Regions from separate parts of the Homo sapiens genome. Here region 2 is linked to region 1. The links are contacts of gene promoters, found by promoter capture Hi-C in blood cells and fetal thymus (Javierre and others, 2016). All regions are on one chromosome and are shown on one strand. Each heading gives the region's core, a stretch centred on a gene start or on the middle of the fragment in contact. The rest is flanking DNA. Distances are from core to core; before and after follow the strand shown. Region 1 holds the start of TNS3 (tensin 3). Region 2 has its middle 6.4 kb from the start of LINC02902.

Region 1 (5,370 bases), core at 1,414-3,913:
CCGCTGTGAGGAAGCCTCGAAGCCTCAATTCTAAGCGTGCTGCTGAGGCACTCAGCAAATGTCTCTGGCTTCCTAGTAAGTGGCAGGGATCTAAACAATGCTTTCTGCCCTCAGGAAGGTGGAAAGTTCCTCCCCCTCTCAAGTTCATACACAGGGACACAGGGAGGGAACAAGAGGCTTCCCCTGAACAGGGGTGGTTTACAACAGGCTGATCTTAAGAAAGGAATGGGGCACATAGAGTCAGAGAACTGGGCTCATTCAGATCCCTAACTGTTCCCAGACTTTAAGAATTTACTTGGTATTTTACTCATCTGTAAAATGGGTCCTTGTGTAGAGTCCTAAGCAGATATAAGCTGCGACTGCCAAATGGTAGGTCAGCCCTTCCACTCACTGTTCTTGCCATACTGCCTCCTCCTCAGGTCTCTGCTATCCCCTTCAGCAACACCTCCTGCAGTGGAAGAGCATACTTTGACACCCCCTCTCCTGCCCTTTATTTCCAGAGTCACATTTGCAAACAGCTCACTTTCAAAACATTAGGTGCCAAAGAGACACTTTGTTAAAAAAAAAAAAATCAATTTGCATTCAGGAATAAGTAGTGCCCTGGGGCTACTAGTTTTTCTATCTTGGTAGTTTTTTAAAGACATAATTCAGCTGAGCTGCTGATAGCTATGGCAGCCTCAGCTGAGGAATCGCTGTCTGGACATGCATTAGAATTCAGTCGACAGACGCGCAGCAGCAGCCAGGAACAGGGGTCTGGGACCCTAGAGTCCTGTCCCAGAATCCCAGGCTGCACTACCACCATGTTTCATTTCATCTCGGCCAAGTTACTTAGCCTTCCTTTGCCTCAGTTTACTCGTCTGTAAAATGGGGTAATCATAATCCCAACTCCCTCCAAGGAATGTAATTTGGGTGAAATGAAATGAATGCATGCAAAGCATTTAGCACAGGCAAACACTCAATCGGTATGCCTGTTACTTTGTCTTCGGGGTCACCATTACTATTCCTAAGGTCAGGAGTCGGGCTTGCTGCCAGTTCCTCCTGTCAATTCCCTGTGTACACACCCCCCACCCCCTGTGCTACCACACCCCCACCAGGACCCAGTGCACCTCCATCTCTGTGTAATGGCCTTGCCCCTCCACCCTCCAGCTGCAGCGACTCCCCACCCCCTCCCTGGCCCTCAAGGCCTCAGCACAGAAAAGCCTTTCTTAATACTTGTTGATTGATTTGCAAATATAACCTCACAGGCCCCAAAGAGAGAAGAACCAGAATCACCAGAACAAGTAAACCTCATTCAAAAGGGAAAGCATGAAAGCAATTTAAAAAATTAATATGCACAGACCAAAGCCTCAAGAAAATCTAAAATGTCAAAGGGTTGGTTAGTTCAGAAGGGCCATGCAATATTAATACAATGAGTTCTGCATTCATACTTTTCAGTATATTTTCAGAGTCCTCCATGATCATGCATTCAAATAGTGAAAAAAATGGGGGGAAAGCCAACCCGGAAGATCAAAGTGTGTGAATGCGCCCCAAGGAAGCCTGGGGGCTTCCCAGGGGGTTGTGACCACCCTCAGTAGTGCTCTCTGCTGGCCCCACACCCTGATGGCGCTTTGAGTTTTTCAACCACGCTGGAGTTCGGGTCATCTGCTGACACTGTCTGGAGAATGCCTGAGGAACGCCTGAATCTCTTCCCGCCACAGACACTCAAATCACTCCAAGCAAAGGACCCGGGACTCACATGTCAGGCCGCTGCACAGCACCGACACAGAGACCCCTGGGCCGTCCGGGACCCTCCCTCCTCCTGCTTGTCAGCGACAGCTCCCGCGTGCCAGGAGGCACATGCCACACAGCTGGCCCCCAGCCTGGGACAGCACCCCCCACCCCAGAATATCCCCCCACCCCGAGGTCCCGTCCTTCAGGGAAAAAAAGGAAGCGCGTAAAGACCCCCTGCCTCCCACCCACCAAAGGGAAAGGGAAAGAGACGCACTGGAGAGCTTGCCTAGAAAAAGTAGGAGAAGGGTCTTGAGCCTGCCCATTGAAGCCCCTAGCTGCGCTCTCCACCTGGAGTCTCGAGACGGAGTCCTAGGGAGCAAAGTCCGCTCGGTCCCGACAGCGACTGCGACATAGCTGCTCCGGTCTCTGCCCTCAGTCCAGGGCGCCCGGGCGCCACGGGTCCCACTCGAGTGGTCCTGCGCCCCAGCCAGTCCCCAAACCCAGCCAGTCAGCGCCCCCGTCCCCGGACTCCGGCGAAGCTGGCCCGCGCCCCAGCCCCTGTCCTGGGACTCCTGCCGAGCCCCCGCCCCCCACGCGCCGCAAACCCCGTACCCGCGCGCACCAAACCCCTTGCCCGTGCGCCCCCAACCGGGTCCCCGCGCTCCCTAACCTGGGTTCTCCCGTGACCCCATCCCCGCGCCCTGAGCTCCCGTACCCCGCGCTCCCCGAACTCTGTCTCCGCGCTCCCCGAACTCAGTCCCCGCGCCCCAGCTCCAGATCTCTGTGCTCCCCAAGCCTCGTTCCTGCGCCCGGAGCGCGAAAGCCCGCGCCGGGCCCGAAACAAAGAGGACCGCGGCGCGTGGCCGCGTTTCCTCCTTCCCCGGCCCCAGTACCTGGGGGAGCCTGAGGCGCGGTCCGGCAGGGCGATGGCCGCAACGAGGCTGGGCTCCGAGTAGCGCGCGGGCGGGCCCGTCCTCCTGGCTGGCTGCCGGCGCCCGCGGCAGGGCCCCCTCGAGGCGGCGCGGGCAATCGCCACGGCCGGCCCCCGCGCCCGCGCCCCGAGCCTGGCGGGTCACCTGGCCTCATCACCCTAACAATGCAGCGCGCCTCCAGGCGCCCTTCACCGGGGTCCCCCGCCCTGCCGAGGTGCGCCCTGGGACCTCCCTTCGCTGGCCGCAGAGAGGACCTGGAATTATCAGACCCATTGAGCAGCCCAGGCTCCAAGTGGTCTGGAGGCTTGCAGGTTCCGCCGGGCCGGTGTTAGAGTACCTGGGGAGGCGGGTTCGGATCCTGGTTCCTGCACAACCAGTTCATTCTTTCATTCAGCGCCTGTGATTAAGGTGCTCTCCGGGAGCAAGACCTACCCTCCCTCCTGTAGCTCATAGCCTAGTGGGAGTCGCGCATACATAAAGGAGCACAGCCGCTCCGGAAAGCCTAGGGTGCCGTAGAAGCCCCTGAAATACCCAGCTAATGAAGGGAGGAGGTCAGGGAAGTCTTTAGAAGTCACATGACTTCTTAAAATGCGCCGGGACAAATGAGCAGAATTTAGGCAAGCCAGGGGAAACCAGAAAAACGATCCCGAGCAGAGAGATTCTCAGAGGAGGAAAGGCCTATAGGTTGTCCATCCTGACTGTCCATCCCTGAGATTCAGATGGCCCTGAACTCAGTCGCTTAGCCTCAGTTTCCCCATTTGTGAGATCGGGGGAATGGAAAAAGTTTGCAGAAATCAGAAGTGCTCTTCCTCCAGGGAGGTCACAAGAGAAATTTCATCAGCGGTTTGTCCTGTGGTCCTTTCCAGGAAAACATCCTCCCCGCCAGCCTCTCACAGAAGAGACCTAGATTTCATCTGCCACGTGGAGCAGGCGGTCTCAGAATCCCACCCGGAGCAGGGTCCAGGGCAAGTCTTGGAGGACAGTCACCAAGAACTGCTTTGGATTCGGGAACAGAGCTGCCTAACCCATCCGCAGCCCTGGGGTCCTGCCCTGTTCCTCTGGCCCCTTCAGGGCAGCGGGGGAAGCAGGGAAAACAGCCTGTCAGAGATGGCAGAGAAACCGAGCAAGAATAATTATCCTGGAAAAGACTTTCAGAAGTAACCACCAGAAACTTCGAGTCCCCAGATCCAAACAGCTGAGAATGTGGGGCCTGAGCCACGCTCTGACTCCACTCCCACCACATGAGGAGAAACAAGAGCTGCTTTTCTGGAAGACTTGAACAACCCCTGCTGTGCTCTGGAAGGTAGTGTCATTTCTCATCCCCAGACTGATCTGGGTATTTATTCCCAGGCAAAGGCTTCATGAGCACCATGCCCCAGCCCCTAGAGATGAGGCAGGCATTTTTCCTACACTCTAGGAGACACCAGGTCAAGAGTCAATGAGATGAGTCAAGGGGTGCCAGGGAAGATGCCATAGGGGAAGGTGGGGAGGAGGTCACAGCCAGCTGGGTTAGGAATGGGGGTGAGGCTGGTACTGTTACGATCTCCTTTGTCCTGATAAGGAAACAGGATCTGACATTCTAGGCAACTTGTTCAAGGTCACCCACCTGGTCAGGCGAAGAAAGTGGGAGGGATCAGGACTATCTGGCCTTGAGGCTACTCTTAACTTCTTCCCAGCTGCCTGCCCACACCATCCACTCTGTGCAATTGGACTAAATCATCACTTTGCTCAACCCTCTCTTCCATTAAGACCGTGGTGATCTTCACACCCAGAGCCAATTACGTGCTATTCTGTGCATCACAGAAACCATCATAATGCCAAAAACCATGTTGGCTGAATGACAACATGAATTTGAGCTTCTTGCAGTGTTAGGGCACCCATTTACAGGAGGTGACACTGTTGTTTGTCTGAGAGCTCACAGTCAGGAAAACTCAGTGCAGTGCTGGGGTTCTCTGACCCTTTGTCAGGGAGCCTCTTCTAAAATCTCTCCAAACTGCTACCCACACCCAAGCCAGATGGCCCCACCGGCCACACTGCCCTTGTTGGGGTAGCAATGGAATGGGATGCCCCAACCACACCTTTGTTTCTAGAAAAACTGTGACTTGGGTGCTCATTCGTGCAGTGTCTGTGGTTATATTCCCTGGCAGTGTCCCAAGAAAGGAGAAGAAAAACCGGGCTCCAGTATCCCCACGCACTCTGTGTTGGCTGGGATGGCTGTTCCCCGGGTTCCCCACACCTCGTCTAGAGGCACATGAAGGGAAGCCTCTCTGGATCCCCAATCGGGACCTGGGCCCCTTCCAGAGCTTCGCTTCCCCAGCCCAGGGCCTCCCCACTTCGCAGGCTGCAACTTCAAGTTTCCAAGAAATTAAACAAAAACAGGGCATGAACCAGTATCTGAAAAAGGGAATGTGCATTTTTTCCATCCTTAGCCATCCAAAAAAAACTCAACTTTGAAAACAAAAGTCTCCAACATTTAGCTGAAAAAAAAAAAAAGCAGCAATATGCCAAGAGTGGCCTCTCCCTCCTAGTATGCCAAGCAGAGGGCAGGGGAGTCTGGGCAAGAAACTCCCGCCAATCTCCTTCCTCCCTGAGCCCTTCTTTGCAGACTCATTCTTGCTCCTCCCCTGTAGGAGTTTTAGAAGATGTGTTGGAAGCTTGTCATTGCAATGAAGATTGTCTTTGCCACCGCAAAAATCTGAATTTGTATCCCTAGATCAAGGGAGGTATA
Region 2 (5,918 bases), core at 2,719-5,218, 68 kb after region 1:
GCTGGTCTTGAACTCCCGACCTCAGGAAATCTGCCCGCCTTGGCCTCCCAAAGTGCTGGGATTACAGGCTTGAGCCACTGCACCCGGCCTATAAAGTCATTTTAATCAGTCTCTAGATGTTCTTTTCATGTTTGAACGTGAGAACAGGGCCTGGAGTTACCTAGTCTGCCATCTTGCTGACCTCACTCTCTGCTTATGCCTGTTTGAAGTTTTGTTTATATTGTTGTAACCTTAAAGAGTCTTGATGAATACTCTCATTATTTAGGTGATAAAACTCAGAGGTTATAGTGTTTAACGTACACAGCTTAAAAAGTGGATAACTCAGGGACTCAAGCCCAAGACGTCTAAGTCTTCCTCTCTGCGTCCTCTAAAGCAGTGTTTCCAAACTTGGCATTCACACAAATGGCCTGGAGATCTCATTAAAATGCAGATTCTGGCCGGGCGCGGTGGCTCATGCCTGTAATCCCAGCACTTTGGGGGGCTGAAGCAGGTGGATCACCTGAGGTCAGGAGTTCGAGACCAGCCTGACTAACATGGTGAAACCCTGTTTCTACTAAAAAAAAATACAAAAACTAGCTGGGCGTAGTGGCGCCTGTAATCCCAGCTACTCAGGAGGCTGAGGCAGGAGAATCACTTGAAACCAGGAGGCGGAGGTTGTGGTGAGCCGAGATCACACCATTCCACTTCAGCCTGGGTGACAGAGTGAGACTCTGTCTCAAAAATAATAATAAAAAAAAATGAAATGCAGATTCTCTGGTCTAGGGTGGGACCAGAGGTGCTGAATTTCTCACAAGAACCAAAGCGAAGCTGAGGTTGATGGTCTGTAGCCCACAACTTGAGTGCTGGAGAAAATGACAGCCTTAAGACAAGGAAGCAACCAGCTCAAAATGATCTCCTGTCAGTGTCTTCTGGATGTGTAGTTACATACTAGTTTTCCTGTCTTATAGGATTGAGATGTAGAGAAAACTTGATCTAGCAAGGAAGATAAAAAGACTCATAGTGGCACAGGATTTCTAGGCTTTCTTTTCCAGTAATGAAGGTGGCCTGAGTTCAAACGTAAATCCTGGACTTTCCCAAGTCATTCCAAAACTCCAGGCAAAGCTTTGGAATCCCAGAGCACCCCCTCATTAGGAGGGATTTAAGTGGCTTGTACTTTGAAAAGCAAACACTGGAGCCTCTACTCCACACCTGCCTTGCTCAGCTCCCTGAAGGCAGCTGAGCTAAAGTGACTATTGAAGAAGGGTCTCTCCCATGCAATAAGCTCACCAGAGAAGGACAAGGCCTCCCAAAGGAATATATATCCATCTGTAGGTCAATCAGAAAGACAAGGCCTCCCAAACGAATATATATCCATATGTAGGTCAATCAGTCAAGCAAGACTAAAGAAGTACCATGGGGTGAAAGCCACTATAGTCAGTACTGGGAGCTTTCTGCTCCCCTCTGGGGCCATCACTGTACTTCTCTGAGTCAGTGAGCCCAGGATAGTGCATCTGGGCTGTGTTTGTTTCAAGAGTGTGAGAAAATGAGGTTGGAGCAAGGGCCAGGTGAGACTGGGGCAGGGCTGCCAGCTGCCTGCTGAGTCCAGTGCTGCTTTTCTTCTGTGTAGCTGCAGGCCTGCTGATGCAGCAGCGTGGCCCTTGTATGCTCACAGAGCAGGAAGTCACCAAACACAGAGCAAGGGGTCCCTGGGCTGCAGGCTCTGCCAATGTGGTTTCGATTCACTCAAATGTTAAAACATTCTTCCTGTTGATCAGCTAAGTTTGTGGACTGTGCAAAAGGAGTTCGTAACGAGGGCAAGGGATACCAGGAAAGCAGTTGTCATTTCTGCCTTTCTTTCCTGGTTTAGGACCAGGGAACAACAGCAAACAGAAGGGCATGGCCCCATATGACAGAACGAGCCCTGCTGCTTCCTACTGAGGGGCTCCGGGAGGATTCTCCACCCTCCTAGCTCTGCTTTTTCTCATCAGACACTGCGCTCATCAGCAGTGCTCTGCCTGAGTAGACACTTCGTTATCTAGAGGACTTTGGAAATAGGGTGTTAAGACATTTTTGTTAAAGACAAACACCATGTGGGGTGTAAGATTCCAGGTCATGGTCATGTGAGTGTCCATGCCTAACTTGAGTGAACATTAGCTTATGAGAGGGTCTCAGGGCCAGATTCATCTATTGACTTAATAACAGTTGAAGCGAAGGGACATTGATTCAATTATTAATTACTTCACCCTTGACTTAGCATGCGCTATGTTGTCAGCTCTGTGCAAGACACTCAGAGCCCAGAAAACCCAAGTGAAACAAACAAAATAAAAACCCCATCCCTGCTCTGGAAGAGCTCCTAGCCTGGACTATAAACCTGTCTTCATTTCCAGAGACAGCCTTCCTTTCAGGGCCTATGTATGATTGATTTTTTTTATTCCTGCCTTCTGTATTTCATGATCAAAAAACCCTGAAGAATTGTCCTTTTTCTCATGATCAAGAGAGAAGCTGCTCCCTGGCAAGTGGTATCATTCCTTCCCCTGACCCCAGGGAACGTGTTCTAGGGAGTGAAGGAGAGGGGACGGGAGGAGAAGGGATGTACTGTTCAGGTTAATGTCCATTGGCCAGACTGTTTGAGTCTCTAAAATGTTGTTCATTCCACTAAAGTTTCATAAATAGAGAGTCCCAGTAGGCTCTGTGCACATCCTCTAGACAATACCGCACGAAGAAAGAGTAGCTGGTGTGCTTCTGGATTATGAAACAGCAAAACACAAAACAAAACAAAAAAAACAAACAAACACTGAAAACAGAAATGACTACAAATCCATACTTTCCCAGGCAGATCCGTGGAGACCAGAGTTATGGGAAAGCCTCCCAGACATGCTGGGAGGGACTCTCAGTCCCTTCCCTCCCTTTACCCAAGACGGATGTGTGGGTTTAATGTTTCAGTAAGATTTCATCAAACCAAACCACAGGAGATAGATGGGTTTCCATTCCAAGGTTTCTCCTTTATTTTTGTTGAGAAAGTTATACGGAAGTTTAAAAAATATATGTGTCCATATCAGAAGATTGTCACCCAATTCAGAAATAGATTTAGGGTGGCTTGAGATGGTGAGACATTTGGGTTTGGAAAGAAATTGATAAATTATCCACTTCTTTTACCACCCCAGGAAAATAGAAACAGAAAATTATCCAGGCAGGACAGAGAAAACTTTTTGAAATGCTGACTTGAGGGTCCAGCATAAAATATTCTATGTAGTGATTGTTGTTAATCTCTCGGGGTTTTTGCTCCTCTGAAAAGTCAAAAGAAAGGCCTCCCATGCACTCCCTTACCAACAGCCTTCAGTGGTTCCCAAGGGTCTCTCCTGCTGAAAGCCCATAATAGCCCTTGAGAATTATTGAGGAGTATGTTAAAAAAAGATTCTGGGGCCAGGCACAGTGGCTCACGCCTGTAATTCCAGCACTTTAGGAGGCTGAGACGGGAGGATCACGTGAGCCAGGAGTTTGAGACCAGCCTGGGCAACATCTCTACAAAAAAAATACAAAAATTAGCCTAGCATGGTGGCACATCTGTAGTCCTAGCTACAGGGAGGCAGGAGGCTGAGGTGAGAGGATCCCTTGAACCTGGGAGGTCCAGGTTGGAGTGAGCCATGATCACGCTGCAATGGAGTGGAGTGGAACACCACTCAGTCCAGCCTGGGCCACAGAACAAGACCTTGTCTCAAACAAACAAATAAACAAACAAAAAACCCCCAAAACAGATCTGGGCATTGAACCTGGACCCTCTGTATTGCAGTTGCTGAGAGTGGAGCACAGTATTGTGCATTTTTAAGTGGTTCTCCTAAGGTGGCTGTCTCAGTCTAAAAACCTTTAGAACTTTGGGTGTGAATGGTCTCTAGGTGAGTTTGTCTCCTGGTGGGTTTGGTGAGGTGGCTGGGCTACAGCCAGACTGTGCTCTCGAGTCACCAAAGCACCACGACACCTTGGACAACCCCTAATTCCTGGCCTGGGTGGGGCCTGGAACATCTTAATCATTAAAGAAGGACGCTCTCTGAGGCTCATGGCGGCAATGTTAAATGATTGAAAACCCAACTCAAACACGCTTCCAGTCGCCACAGAGGGAATAATTTGAGCAGCAACAAAGAAAAAAGACTGCTCTGGACTGGGGCAAATCAACCATTTTAAAATTAATGAGTTCATCATGACAACAGAGAATGAAACTCGTTGACCACCTGGAAGGATGCTGGGGAACCAATCAATGCGTAATGACTGTGAATCATGCATGGATCCTGCCTTCCCTTCTGTGACCAAAAGCTGGCCTTTTGTTTCTCCAAGGAAGGTACTGAATCCCACTTGTCCCTGCAGTCCCGACAGCAGCCTCTCTCAGACTTGCAAGTGCTTAGTGACTGTTAAATCAGGAGGATGAGGCATTTCTCCACCAGCAAAGACATCCCTCGTATCTGTAATTACCTCAGCCCATCGAGGGAAGTGTCTGCTCCAAATTCTCGCTACAGCGGCCCAGCTAGTTTGCCTCCTTACAAACTATCGGGATCACTGGGGTGACTTTACCCTTACCCTGAGGCTAGAGTCCCTCATTTTTCATCCAGGTGACTGCATGTTACCAGTTTTCTAACATTGTGAGCAGCACCCACAAGCTGCAATCTTCAGACCTGCAACTACCCGATCAGTTGAGTCGGCTCTCTCTGGTTTTGCCAAATTGGCCTAGCCTCAAGAGGCCTCCAGTTACACATTGCTCCTTGAAGAAGGGGGCCGCCTCTGAGCCTAGAGTGACCTCGGAATTGTGGTTGGGAACCAGGTTCACCTTCCAAGTGCCAATCTCACTCTGCAGAGGAGTGGGCCTTAGTGTGAGGGGTGGTAGCCCCTCAGCCTCCTGTTGGTGGAGGCCTCAGAGGAGCAGAGAGGACATCTCCTCCTTTTGAATCCTGGCACCTGAGCCAGAAACCGGCTCTCCCAAGAGGTAATATGCATTTCCAAGCCGAGCTGTACACAGAGCTGAGACCCACATTGGCCACTGGCCAGCTGGTGCCCTTGGGTAAGTAATGGCAGCCCTGAATCTCTGTATTCTCAACTTTAAAAGACGAGAAAGGTGCTTTTCTTGGGAGTGCTGTGTCAATTAGGAAGAGGATGGTGTGCAGCAGGCACTTAATTGGCACTGCATTCCTCCTGTGCGGGGTACTCTGGACCTTTCCTCCTCCCTCTGGGCTCCTTAGAAGCGAGGATCAGCCCCTCTGGGCTTATTATCTCAGGCTGCCCCTTCACCCACCCTGTTTGTTGTCTGCTCCTGGGCAGAGACCTTCATTAAGGGCAACAGTGTCAAGGGGTGGCCCAGGCCCTGGAGCCAACCCTGGAAGCATCACTTCTTGCCTGTTGCCCCTATTTTGAGGCTCAGTGGGAATGCCCATGGCCAGCTCCACAGCAAGACAGATGGCTCTGTCACTGGCCTTGAGTAATGGGAGGCTCCTCTCACCCTACTGGGCCAAAATCAAAGGTTTCTACCATCTTTGTGAGGCAGTTTTACATGTATCAATCTCATTTGGACCCTCTCATAAACTCAAGCAGGGCAGGGGCAGGGTAATTAGCCCTCTTTAACAGGATCAGAAACTGAGATTCAGAAAGCCACTCATCCAGTGTCTTGCAGCTCCCAGGGGCTGGGCCACACATCACGCAGCCTTGGTGCCCCTCCTCCTCCCATTGGCCAATTTTACTGGAACCCATGGGTACACGAGGCCTTAGGACACCTCTGCTATTCTTACCAGCCCTGCTAAAATATCCCTAAGGACAGCAGGCTCCAGGATGTGATGTCTAGATGTTTGCAGCTTTTCTCAGGGGAACTCCAGTTGTTATCTAATCATTTCAACACAAAACCTCAAAATAAACCCACATGAATTATGGACTAAATGCCCAACTCACAAGAATTTTGTAAA

What was found. The method cuts DNA at HindIII sites, captures the fragments that hold promoters and counts their contacts. A CHiCAGO score of 5 or more calls a contact.
Region 2: a contact is called between a fragment that was not itself captured here and the fragment with the promoter of TNS3 in region 1, in 5 of 17 cell types (total B cells, naive B cells, M1 macrophages and 2 more). The highest score is 14.8, in total B cells.

What each region holds. Positions count from the first base shown.
Region 1 is chr7:47,579,448-47,584,817 of GRCh38, forward strand. It overlaps TNS3 (tensin 3), which reads right to left and starts at 2,664. Exons shown (of 31, transcript NM_022748.12): 1 at 2,604-2,664. RefSeq lists enhancers at 2,000-2,537, 2,538-3,075. The HindIII fragment of the contact is 9,706 bases long and covers 1-5,294 here.
Region 2 is chr7:47,645,848-47,651,765 of GRCh38, forward strand. No RefSeq gene overlaps it. Among named protein-coding and RNA genes, the nearest start is that of LINC02902, 6.4 kb to the right of the region's middle. The HindIII fragment of the contact is 5,738 bases long and covers 1,100-5,918 here.